Linked DNA regions of Homo sapiens: all the other regions are linked to region 1. Evidence: promoter capture Hi-C in 16 types of primary human blood cells and fetal thymus (Javierre and others, 2016). All regions are on one chromosome and are shown on one strand. The core of a region is centred on a gene start or on the middle of the fragment in contact, and the rest is flanking DNA. Distances in the headings are between cores, read along the strand shown.

What was found. Contacts are between HindIII fragments. The CHiCAGO score rates a contact against its expected background, and 5 or more counts as called.
Region 2: the fragment with the promoter of TAF4 here is called in contact with the fragment with the promoter of OGFR in region 1 in 1 of 17 cell types (neutrophils); the score reaches 5.5 in neutrophils.
Region 3: a contact is called between a fragment that was not itself captured here and the fragment with the promoter of OGFR in region 1, in 1 of 17 cell types (erythroblasts). The highest score is 6.7, in erythroblasts.

The regions. Positions count from the first base shown.
Region 1 is chr20:62,802,976-62,806,366 of GRCh38, reverse strand. It overlaps OGFR (opioid growth factor receptor), which reads right to left and starts at 1,532. Exons shown (of 7, transcript NM_007346.4): 1 at 1,337-1,532. The coding sequence starts at 1,507. It overlaps OGFR-AS1 (OGFR antisense RNA 1), which reads left to right and starts at 780. Exons shown (of 3, transcript NR_102430.1): 1 at 780-899. RefSeq lists silencers at 599-658, 809-978, 1,039-1,188, 1,269-1,338 and an enhancer at 854-1,759. The HindIII fragment of the contact is 9,717 bases long and covers 1-3,391 here.
Region 2 is chr20:62,064,319-62,067,709 of GRCh38, reverse strand. TAF4 (TATA-box binding protein associated factor 4) reads left to right here and starts at 1,829. Exons shown (of 15, transcript NM_003185.4): 1 at 1,829-3,259. The coding sequence starts at 1,900. It overlaps MIR3195 (microRNA 3195), which reads right to left and starts at 2,908; the gene lies at 2,825-2,908. It overlaps LOC105372705 (a long non-coding RNA gene), which reads right to left and starts at 1,256. Exons shown (of 2, transcript XR_936960.3): 1 at 1,019-1,256; 2 at 1-768. RefSeq lists enhancers at 540-1,053, 2,082-2,596, 2,597-3,110, 3,111-3,391 and silencers at 1,049-1,428, 1,689-1,798, 2,059-2,148. The HindIII fragment of the contact is 9,555 bases long and covers 1-3,391 here.
Region 3 is chr20:62,186,339-62,189,729 of GRCh38, reverse strand. The region is part of intron 1 of MTG2 (mitochondrial ribosome associated GTPase 2); the gene reads right to left. Among named protein-coding and RNA genes, the nearest start is that of MTG2, 5.0 kb to the right of the region's middle. The HindIII fragment of the contact is 847 bases long and covers 1,491-2,337 here.

The DNA.
Region 1 (3,391 bases), core at 283-2,782:
TTCACCATGTTGGCCAGGCTAATCTTGGACTCCTGACCTCTGGTGATCCGACTGCCCAGGCCTCCGAAAGTGCTGGGATTACAGGCCTGAGCCACCGCCACCGACCTCTCGGCCTGATTTCTCAACAGGGCCGCTGGTGTGGTTCTCTCGCCCCGCCTGATCATCAGTTTCTACTTCTCCTTCCTGGGGCCAGCGGGAGCCTCCCTGGGTCAGTTCTGGAGGCTGGGTCCTGACTGGATGTGGCCACACAGTCAGCCCACAGGTGCATACATGACACTGCCCAGGAAAAAGTGAAACAGCCCCGCCAGGGTCCAGCGCAGGCAGCTGGGGAGGCCTGAGGGGTCCAAAGGGGAAGGGGAGGGGCTTGTGGACAGAAGCCACAGCAGGAGGCAGAGGGAAGAGGTCAGGGGTCACGGGCGCCTGGCAGGATGGTCAGGGCCTCTGAGCACCGCTTCAGGAGAGCGGCCTGAGGAACTCCAGTGAGGAAAGCCCGTCAAGAGCCCACCCAGGGGTCACACCGTCCTGTGGGACAGAGCCAGACCCCACCCCCCTGCCCAGCCTGCCTGGCCGCTGCCCTCCCGGCGACAGGGCGGAGCCCCTCCGTGCTCTCTCACTGCCCGCTCCACCATGGCCAGGCGCAAACGCAAACAGTGCTGGGTGCCAAGGGGAGAATCCATGCGGAGCCGTCGAGTTCCATGCACTTCCCGGCCCTCCGCAACCCGGGCAGCTCAGCTGGAAGGCCGCTCCCAGATCAATCCCAGCTCCCCGACAGGGGGGCCGGACTGCGACAGTGTGGCGTTCCCAGCGCGGCAACAAAAGTAACCCCGGCGATGACAGGCGCCCGGCGGTAACAAAAGTAACAAGCGGAGGCCCCGTCGGCCCGCCCCGGGCTCCCGCAGGTGCAGACGCGAAGCCTCCCAGGCCAGACCCGGCCCGGGCCCCAGCCCCAGCCCCAGCCCCAGCCCCAGCCCCAGGCCGCGGGGCCTGCGCAGGGGCCGCCAGGAGGCCGAGGCGCGGGCCCGAGGCGGGAGGGGTTCCATCAGGGGCGGCCACGGCGGCTGGGGGCGGGACGCGCCCGAGGCACCCCCGGGGGGAACGGCGCCCACACACGATGGGGCCCGGGAGGCTCAGCTCCGCTGTCACCCACGCGCGGCCCCCGCACTTCCCCGCCGGGCCCTGGGGCTGGGGGTCGGCCGGTCTGGGGGGGGGTCCCCGGGGCTGCGGGAGCTCCAGGAGGCTCCAGGTGTCTCCGCCCGGGATGGGGGGGTCTCCCGTCCACGCAGCCGGGCGGGGGGCGCCGGGGACCCCAGGCCTCTTCCGCGCCGCGGGGCCGCACCTGGAACGAGCTGGGCCGCGCCGCCCGCGGCTCCTCCGACTCCTCGTCCTCGTCCCCTGCGTCCGCGTCCCTCGCGCCGGCGGCCTCGCCGTCCTCGCAGTCCTCGTCCTCCGCGTCCTCCGCATCCTCCTCGTCCTCCTCCCAGGTGGAGTCGCAGTCGGGGTCGTCCATGCTCGGCGGCGGCGGGGCTCGCGCTGGAGGCGGAAGCGAAACCGAAAGCAGAGGAAGCGCGGGGGGCGGGCGGGGGGAGGGGACGGAGCGGCCCAGGCCCCGCCCGCGTCCGCGCGCAACGCCCCTCCCTCCCCGGGACGCCCGCCCCGCGCCCCTCCCTCCCCCGAGAATCCCCCAACGTCCGCCCGGGAGGATGCCCCTCGCGGAACGCCCACCCCCACCCCACGATGCCCACCCGGGAGGATTCGCCCCACCCCGTCTCGCAAGGATGCCCGCCCTAGGAGATCCTCCCTCCCGAAAATGTCCCCAAAGCCTGCCCGCCCCCCAGAGGACGGTCTCCCCGGAAGATGAGCCGGGTACCTAGGAAGGATGTCTTCCCGACGATGTCCTCCCAGCAGGATTCTCTCCCCGGAGGATGCCTGCCCCGCAGAGAATCCCCTCTTCCAGGAATATTTCTGTCCCCCAAGAGAAATCCCCCCAGAGGATGTCCCCATCAGAAGAATGTCCCTTGGAGGATAACCCCCGGAGGGGCCACGTGTCCACAGGGGCCTCTCTCCCTAAGCTGGGTGTGTAGGGGTCTCTGTCCTTCTGCTGCGGGCTGGGGGCCTTACTCAGCTCCTGGAAGCTGCTGGCGGACCCCTGTCCCTCCATAGGCAGTGCAAAGCACGGCCGTTTTCTTTTCAAAGCCACCAGGGGAGTCTTTCTCTCTAGGGTGCCGAGTCTTATATAACCAGGATGACATGGGCAAGCCGTGGCTTCCTTCACCTTTGCCGCCATCTCTCAGTTGTAAGAAGGCACTTAGGGGAGAGGACCACACGAAGCCTGGGCCACCGGGAGGGTCACCCTGGGGACTGTTCAACACAGCTGATGCCAGTTCAGCGCCTCCTCAGGGCCCTCTCTCTAAGCACTGGCAGATATGGGGCAACACAAAGTCACTTTCACCTGCCATTTCCCAGCACCGCGGGTCCCTTGCTCATCCACCTTTGACATCTGCTGGCAGATACATGGCAAGGTTGGTGACCTCTTGAAATAAAAATCAGGAGTGGCCACTCCAGATAAATTTCTTCTGTAACTGCTATACCAATTCATTTCAAAACATTTAGGTAAAACTAAATCTGGATTTTGGACTTGGCCATGAGGATAGCTCCTCGCAGAGTTGTCCCTGTAATGATGGTGGTGGAAAGGTGGAGAAGGCCCCAGCCCAGCCCCTAGGGGACACTGCCATCTCCTAGCCCTGCAGGCCTGCTGGGCCTGGGAACTGGTGACATTCCTTGTACTGTGTGCCAGGGACAGCCGTGAACGCAAGTCTTCCAATCCTGGCCACAAGTACAGGTTAAGGACCCTCTGGGTGCTGGGCCCTAATCTTTGCTGACCTGTTGACCACTGTTAGCAGGTGCAGTCTCACCTGGCTGGAACCTGTGGACATGCATCACACTTTCTTGAAACGACAGTGGTGATGCCCCGAAGTTCTGGGGCGCTGGACATTTCTGTAAATCAACTTAGTGCAGTGGCCAGGGCAGGTTTCCCAGGGAGCCTGAGTGAGCTGCCTGACCTCCTTGTTAGATGATTTACAGGTGGGATCTGGTTGCAGCATCAGAATAGACTGTGAGGTGGAGTCGGGGGGCTCTGATGGGGACATTGATGGGTGCTGGGTGGTTGTATAGGGTTTGGGTGATCTGAGACTTGGGTGGTCAGGCTGCCCCCTCCACTGCCCCAGAAAACAGAAAGACAAGCATACTGGGTGCTGACAACATTGTTCTACGGGGACAGCATTCCCGCTGCTACCTACTGTCGGCAGGACTATAGAACCACTTCCCTAAAAAGAGTATTAGAGACATTGCCCAACTTCTGTTTTACAAATATCACCACACCAAATTGCTTCTT
Region 2 (3,391 bases), core at 580-3,079, 740 kb after region 1:
GAACCTGGTCTGTTTCCTGCGAGTCCTGCGTTCTGCTTCTGCCCCGACTCCAATCTGAGGGGTCTGTGGGTATGGGCTGTGCAGTGAGCCTGGTGCGCCCCACCTTGCAAGTTGTGCGTGGGGCCAGTTAGCCTGCCTGTGCTTTGACCTGCTTTAAAAATGTTCTAATTAGTTGTCAACACTCAAAAATTAAAAATCCCGAGATTTAATCATCACTTTATATTTCTGTTCTTTCTGGAAAACTCAGACTGTCCCCCTACTGAGCTCAAGGTGCTCCGTAGGTGTACCCACAGGGGCCCTCCCCGCCATACTCAGCTTGCTTCATTCATTTCCTTTCCTGCCTTCTGGGAGCCAAAGTTCAGGTACAAAACTCCAGCTGTACGTTTGCAGTGATTTCCCCCAAACACTGTTCCCCTATAGGGGAGGCACCTCTCCTAGGCTCCGTCCTCAATGCTCATTGGCTGCTGCTGCTGTCGAGAAACAAGCCTGGGGTGAAGTCCCGTATTCCAGTTATCAGTAAGTCCATTCCTTTGCAAGGCTACAGTTCGAACAGGCACAAGGGTCCAGTTCGGGTCTGCTTTCGAGACTAGCAGTCTCCTTTGTTAAAGCAATTAAAAAAATCATTTTCTTTGTCAGCAACGTCATTCATCGTCCCGAGGTCTCTGCTTATTGCGGCGCTGTCTTCAGCTGCGAAGACTGACCCTGTGGCCTCTTGGCCCCAGTGAGGTCCGAGGCAAGGAAGCGTCTCTCTGAAACCTATTCTGGGCTCTTAGGAAGAAATGAGAGAAAGGAAAACCACTAGAAATGTCCAATAACACCATCTTTTGGTTGGAAAATAAAACACGCAGAAAGAGGGGACTGGAACTTTTACTGAAGTATTTCTAGAGAGAAGGTGCTTGGGAACACTTTAGGTAACTTACTCCCCTCCCCCAGCAGAAGGTAAAAAAAGCTACTTCCAGACGTGCCGGCTTCAGGCTCGGGAACTTCGTTTGGCGCCTGGCAAGCACCGTGCTCTTACCTACGGGCTTATACGACACTCCTGTCTCCAAGGCAGCTGGGTGCGGGGACAGTCAGCCCGGGGCGGCTGGGTTTATTGATTAAAAATGGAGGGAAGGGCCAGGGGTGGTCACGATTGGAGGGCGAGAAGAGCCGTGCGCGCAGGACCCCTCCCCACCGCCCGGGACCGGCTGAGCCAGAGGCGGACCCAGCTTCCCCGCGGCGGCTTGGAGGGGCCGGGCGCCGGTCCCCGTCCCCAGGGCGCGCTGCGACAGTCCCCTCCCCGTTCCCGCCCGCCTCCCAGGCCCATCCACTCCAGGGCCTGCGCGCCGCCCGGCGGCGCCCCGGCATCCCCGCGCGCTGTTCCCCGGGCCTCGGACGGGCCCTGCGCCGCCGCTGCCACCGCGCACGGCGCCCGCCCGGCGCTCCCGTCAGCGCCGCCGCAGCCATTTTGGAGCGAGCCGAGACAAAGAGCGAGGCCCCGTCGCCGCCCCGCGCCCGCCTCGGCCCGGCCCAGCGCACCGTTCCCGCATCCCGCGCCCCGCCCGGCGGCCCCCTCCCCGTCCGCCACCGCCCCGGCGCCCGCGCCCCTGAGCTCCAGCCCCCGCGCTTCCCGCCGCTGCTGCCGCACCCCGGCCGACCGCCCGCGCCCCGGCCTCTAGCGCTCGCAGCCATTGGCCGCGCCTTTTAAGCGCGCGCCGCAGCCAATCGCCGGGCGCCCGCGGTCTCCGCGCCTGCGCAGGGCCGCCACCCCCGCTCCCCCGCCCCCCGGCCGCGCGCCCCCGCCCCCCGCCGGCCGCGCGCCGCCCCCCGCCCGCCCAGCGCCCGCCCCAGTCGGAACCTCCTCCTCGCCCAGGCGCGCTCGGCCCGAGCGGCGGCGGCGGCGGCGGCCGAGGAAAAAAGATGGCGGCGGGCTCGGATCTGCTGGACGAGGTCTTCTTCAACAGCGAGGTGGACGAGAAAGTGGTGAGCGACCTGGTGGGCTCGCTGGAGTCGCAGCTGGCGGCCAGCGCGGCCCACCACCACCACCTCGCGCCGCGCACGCCCGAGGTGCGGGCCGCGGCCGCCGGCGCGCTCGGGAACCATGTTGTGAGCGGCAGCCCGGCCGGAGCCGCGGGCGCAGGGCCGGCCGCCCCCGCCGAGGGCGCGCCCGGAGCGGCGCCGGAGCCGCCCCCCGCAGGTAGAGCGCGGCCGGGGGGCGGGGGGCCGCAGCGCCCGGGCCCCCCCTCACCGCGCCGCCCCCTTGTCCCCGCAGGGCCCGCGCCGCCCGCCGCGAAGCTGAGGCCGCCGCCCGAGGGCAGCGCGGGGTCCTGCGCCCCGGTGCCCGCCGCCGCCGCCGTCGCCGCGGGGCCCGAGCCCGCCCCCGCCGGCCCCGCCAAGCCCGCCGGCCCCGCCGCGCTGGCCGCCCGCGCCGGCCCCGGCCCCGGGCCCGGCCCCGGCCCCGGCCCCGGCCCTGGCCCTGGCAAGCCCGCCGGCCCCGGCGCCGCGCAAACTTTGAATGGGAGCGCCGCGCTGCTGAACTCGCACCACGCCGCCGCACCTGCTGTCAGCCTGGTCAACAACGGGCCCGCCGCGCTGCTGCCGCTGCCCAAGCCCGCCGCCCCCGGCACTGTCATCCAGACGCCCCCCTTCGTGGGCGCCGCCGCGCCCCCCGCGCCCGCCGCGCCCTCGCCCCCCGCCGCCCCCGCGCCCGCCGCCCCCGCCGCCGCCCCGCCCCCGCCACCCCCCGCGCCCGCCACTCTGGCCCGGCCGCCCGGCCACCCCGCCGGACCCCCGACCGCCGCGCCCGCCGTGCCGCCCCCCGCCGCCGCCCAGAACGGGGGCAGCGCCGGGGCAGCCCCCGCCCCCGCCCCGGCCGCCGGGGGCCCCGCGGGGGTCAGCGGCCAACCCGGGCCCGGCGCGGCGGCTGCGGCGCCGGCGCCGGGGGTCAAGGCCGAGTCGCCCAAGAGGGTGGTGCAGGCGGCGCCCCCGGCGGCGCAGACCCTGGCGGCCAGCGGCCCGGCCAGCACGGCGGCCAGCATGGTCATCGGGCCAACTATGCAAGGGGCGCTGCCCAGCCCGGCCGCCGTCCCGCCGCCCGCCCCCGGGACCCCCACCGGGCTGCCCAAAGGCGCGGCCGGCGCAGTGACCCAGAGCCTGTCCCGGACGCCCACGGCCACCACCAGCGGGATTCGGGCCACCCTGACGCCCACCGTGCTGGCCCCCCGCTTGCCGCAGCCGCCTCAGAACCCGACCAACATCCAGAACTTCCAGCTGCCCCCAGGTGAGTGGCCGCACGGGGCGGGAGGGAAGGGCGGCTCCCAGCAGCGCCAGCTGCCAGTTCCAGGAAGTTCTCCGCTGGTGGAATGCTAAGGTCATCTGTCCCGTAGGCCCGTGGCTGGAGCAGGCCGAGGGG
Region 3 (3,391 bases), core at 665-3,164, 620 kb after region 1:
TGCATCATTGCACTCCAGCCTGGAAGACAGAGCGAGACTCCATCTCAAAAAAAAAAAAAAAAAAAGTTAATGTTTACAAATTCTAATTAAAAGGCAGAGGTTGACAAAGTGGATTAAAAAGAGCTAGCTGGGCACAGCAGTTCCTGGCTGTAATCCCAGCACTGTAGGAGGCCAAGGCGGGAAGATCTCTTGAAGCCATGAGTTCGAGACCAGCCTCGGCAAAATAGCAAGACTCCTGTCTCTACCAAAGGAATTAGCTGGGCATGGTGGCGCACCCCTATAGTCCCAGCTACTTTGGAGGCTGAGGTGGGAGAATCACTTGAGCCCATGAATTCAAAGCTGCTATGAGCTATGAATATGCCACCGCACTCCAGCCTGAGCAATAGAATGAGAGAAAGAGACACTTTTTTTTCTTTTTTTTTTTTGAGACAGAGTCTCACTCTGTCACCCAAGCTGGAGCACAGTGACATAATCACAGCTCATTACAGCCTTGACTTCCTGTACTTAAGAGATCCTCCTGCCTCAGCCTCCTGAGTAGCTGGGGCTACAGGTAAGTGCCACTGTGCCTAATTTTTAAATTTTTTTTGCAGAGACAGGGTCTCCCAGTTACCCAGGCTGGTCTCAAGCGATCCTTCTGTCTTGGCCTCCCAAAGTGCTGAGATTACAAGCATGAGCCACCACACCTGGCCTGAGACCCTGTCTAAAAATAGAAAAATAAAAACAGTAAAGACATAAAATCTGAACAATACTATCAAAACATTTATCTAGTTGACATTTACATAACAGTACATCCAACAACTGTACAATATACACTGTTTTCAGGTACAGGTGGAAGTCATCAAACAGACCATAAGATGTGTCATAAGTCTCAATACATTGAGAAGAAATCATAGTCAGTCCTCCGTATCTGTGGGGTCAACAAACCTCACGTCAAAAATATCTGGAAAACAAACAAAAAAACCAGTAACAATACAACAATTTTTTTAATTTAAAAAATAAAGTATAACAGCTATTTACATAGCATTTACATTGTATTGTACTATAAATAATCTAGAGATTACTTGAAGTATACAGAAAGGCCCGGTACAGTGGCTCACACCTGTAATCCCAGCAGTTTGAGAGGCCAAGGCAGGAGAAAAACTTGAGGCCAGGAATTTGAGAACAGCCTGGGCAAAATAGCGAGACCTTGTGTCTACCAAAAAAAAAAAAAAAAAAAAAAAATTAGCTGATTAGCTGGACATGGTGGTGCATGCCTATAATACCAGCTACTTAGGAGGCTAAGGTGGGAGGATCACTTAAGCCCAGGAGTTGGAGGCTGCAGTGAACCATGATCACACACTGCACTCCAGCCTGTGTGACAGAGCTTCTGTGGTGGGGCTGGGGGGAAGTATATGAATACCAACCACAGGGTCTATTCTCGGAATTAAATTGGAAGTCAATAGCTAGAAAATATCTAGGAAAATCCCAAATACCTGCAAATCAAACAAGCTTCTTCTAAATAATCCATAGGCCAAAGAAGAAATCAAAAGAGAAATTACAAAATGTTTTGAACTGAATTATAATGGAAATGCAAAATACCAGAATTTTTTTTTTTTTTTTTTGAGACAGTCTCGCACTGTCGCCCAGGCTGGAGTGCAGTGGTGTGATCTCGGCCCACTGAAAGTTCTGCCTCCCGGGTTCACGCCATTCTCCTGCCTCAGCCTCCCGAGTAGCTGGGACTACAGGCGCCCGCCACCATGAAATACCAGAATTTAAGAGATGCAGCTAGAGTAGTGTTTAGAAGGAAACTTACAGCTCTAATGGCTACCTTGGTAAAGAAGAAAGATCTAAAATCAGTAACCTAAGGCTCCAAATCAAGAAACCAGAAAGAGCAAAGTAAGCGTCGAGTAGAAGGAGGAGAATAATACAGAGCAGAAATAAAGAGACAACAATAACATGTAACAGAAAAAAACAGGTTCACTGAAAAGACAAGCTAACTAACACACTTCTAGCCTGATCAGGAAAACGAGAGAGCGCAAACCTCCACTGTCAGGAATGTTCAACGGGTTATCAGGACACACCTTACAGACAGCCAGAGGGCAAGAGAATGCTGGGAACGACTTCATGCCAGCAAATTCAGTAACAAATTCAACTTACATGAAATGGACAAATTTCTTGAAAAAGGCAACTTATTAAAGAAACACAAGAATAAACAATCTAGAATAGCCCTGTATCTACTCAATAAGTTAAATTTCTTATAAAAGAACACTCCCCAAAGGAAAACTCTAGCTCGGCTTGTTTTCCTGGTAAATTCCATGTAACATTCCAGGAAGAAACAGTGCCAATCTTACACAAGCTTTTTCAGAAAATAGAGGAAGTGAGATCACTATCCAACTCATCCTATGAGGCTAGTACCAAAATCTGACACTAAGAAAAAATAAAATTATAGACCATACCCCTCATGAATATAGATGCAAATAACTCTTAACAAAATATTACCCAATTGAATCCAGCAGTTCAGAAAGGATCACACATCAAGACCTAGTAGGGGTAATCTCAGAACACAAGGCCACATCAAGCAGTCAAAACTCAGCCCAGGCACTTCACTATATCAACAGGTGGTACCACCGTCTCAACACCCACTCATGAGGAGGAAAACAAAACATCTCAGCAAACTGGGAACAGACGGGAACATCTTCGCCCTGATAAGGGCACTACGTAGGGCCGGCCGACAGCTAATCACATTTAATGAAGAAATACTGAATGGTTACCTCCCAAGATGGAGAAAAAGGGCCTCCACACATACCACTGCTATGCAACAATGTCCTTTCACACACTGAAATAAAGGGGGAAAAAAGGAAGAAGTAAAACTGTCCCTGTTTACAGAAGAGAGGACAGAGTTCCACAGAGAATCCCAGGGAAGGCTGGGCACGGTGGCTCATGCCTGTAATCCCAGCACTTTGGGAGGCCGAGGTGGGCGGATCATTTGAGATCAGGAGTTCAAGACCAGCGTGGCCAACATGGTGAAACCCCATCTCTACTAAAAATATAAAAATTAGCCAGGCGTGGTGGCACGTGCCTGTAGTCCCGGCTACTCGGGAGGCTGAGGCAGGAGAATCGCTTGAACCTGGGAGGCAGACGCTGCCGTGAGCCGAGATCACGTTACCGCACTCCAGCCTGGGTGACAGAGCAAGACTCCATCTCAAAAAAAAAAAAAAAAAACAAAAAAAAAAGTCCCAGGGAAGGGAACTGAGCAAGATGGCATGTTATCAGGCTAATATAAAAAAATCAGTTGTATTCTTAAATACCAGCCGCAAACAACTGTAAATTAAAATTAAGAAAAAACCCCATTTATGGTAGTGCCAAATACAAAAAGTACCTGAAAATAATTTCACAGTAAACCTTCAAGACC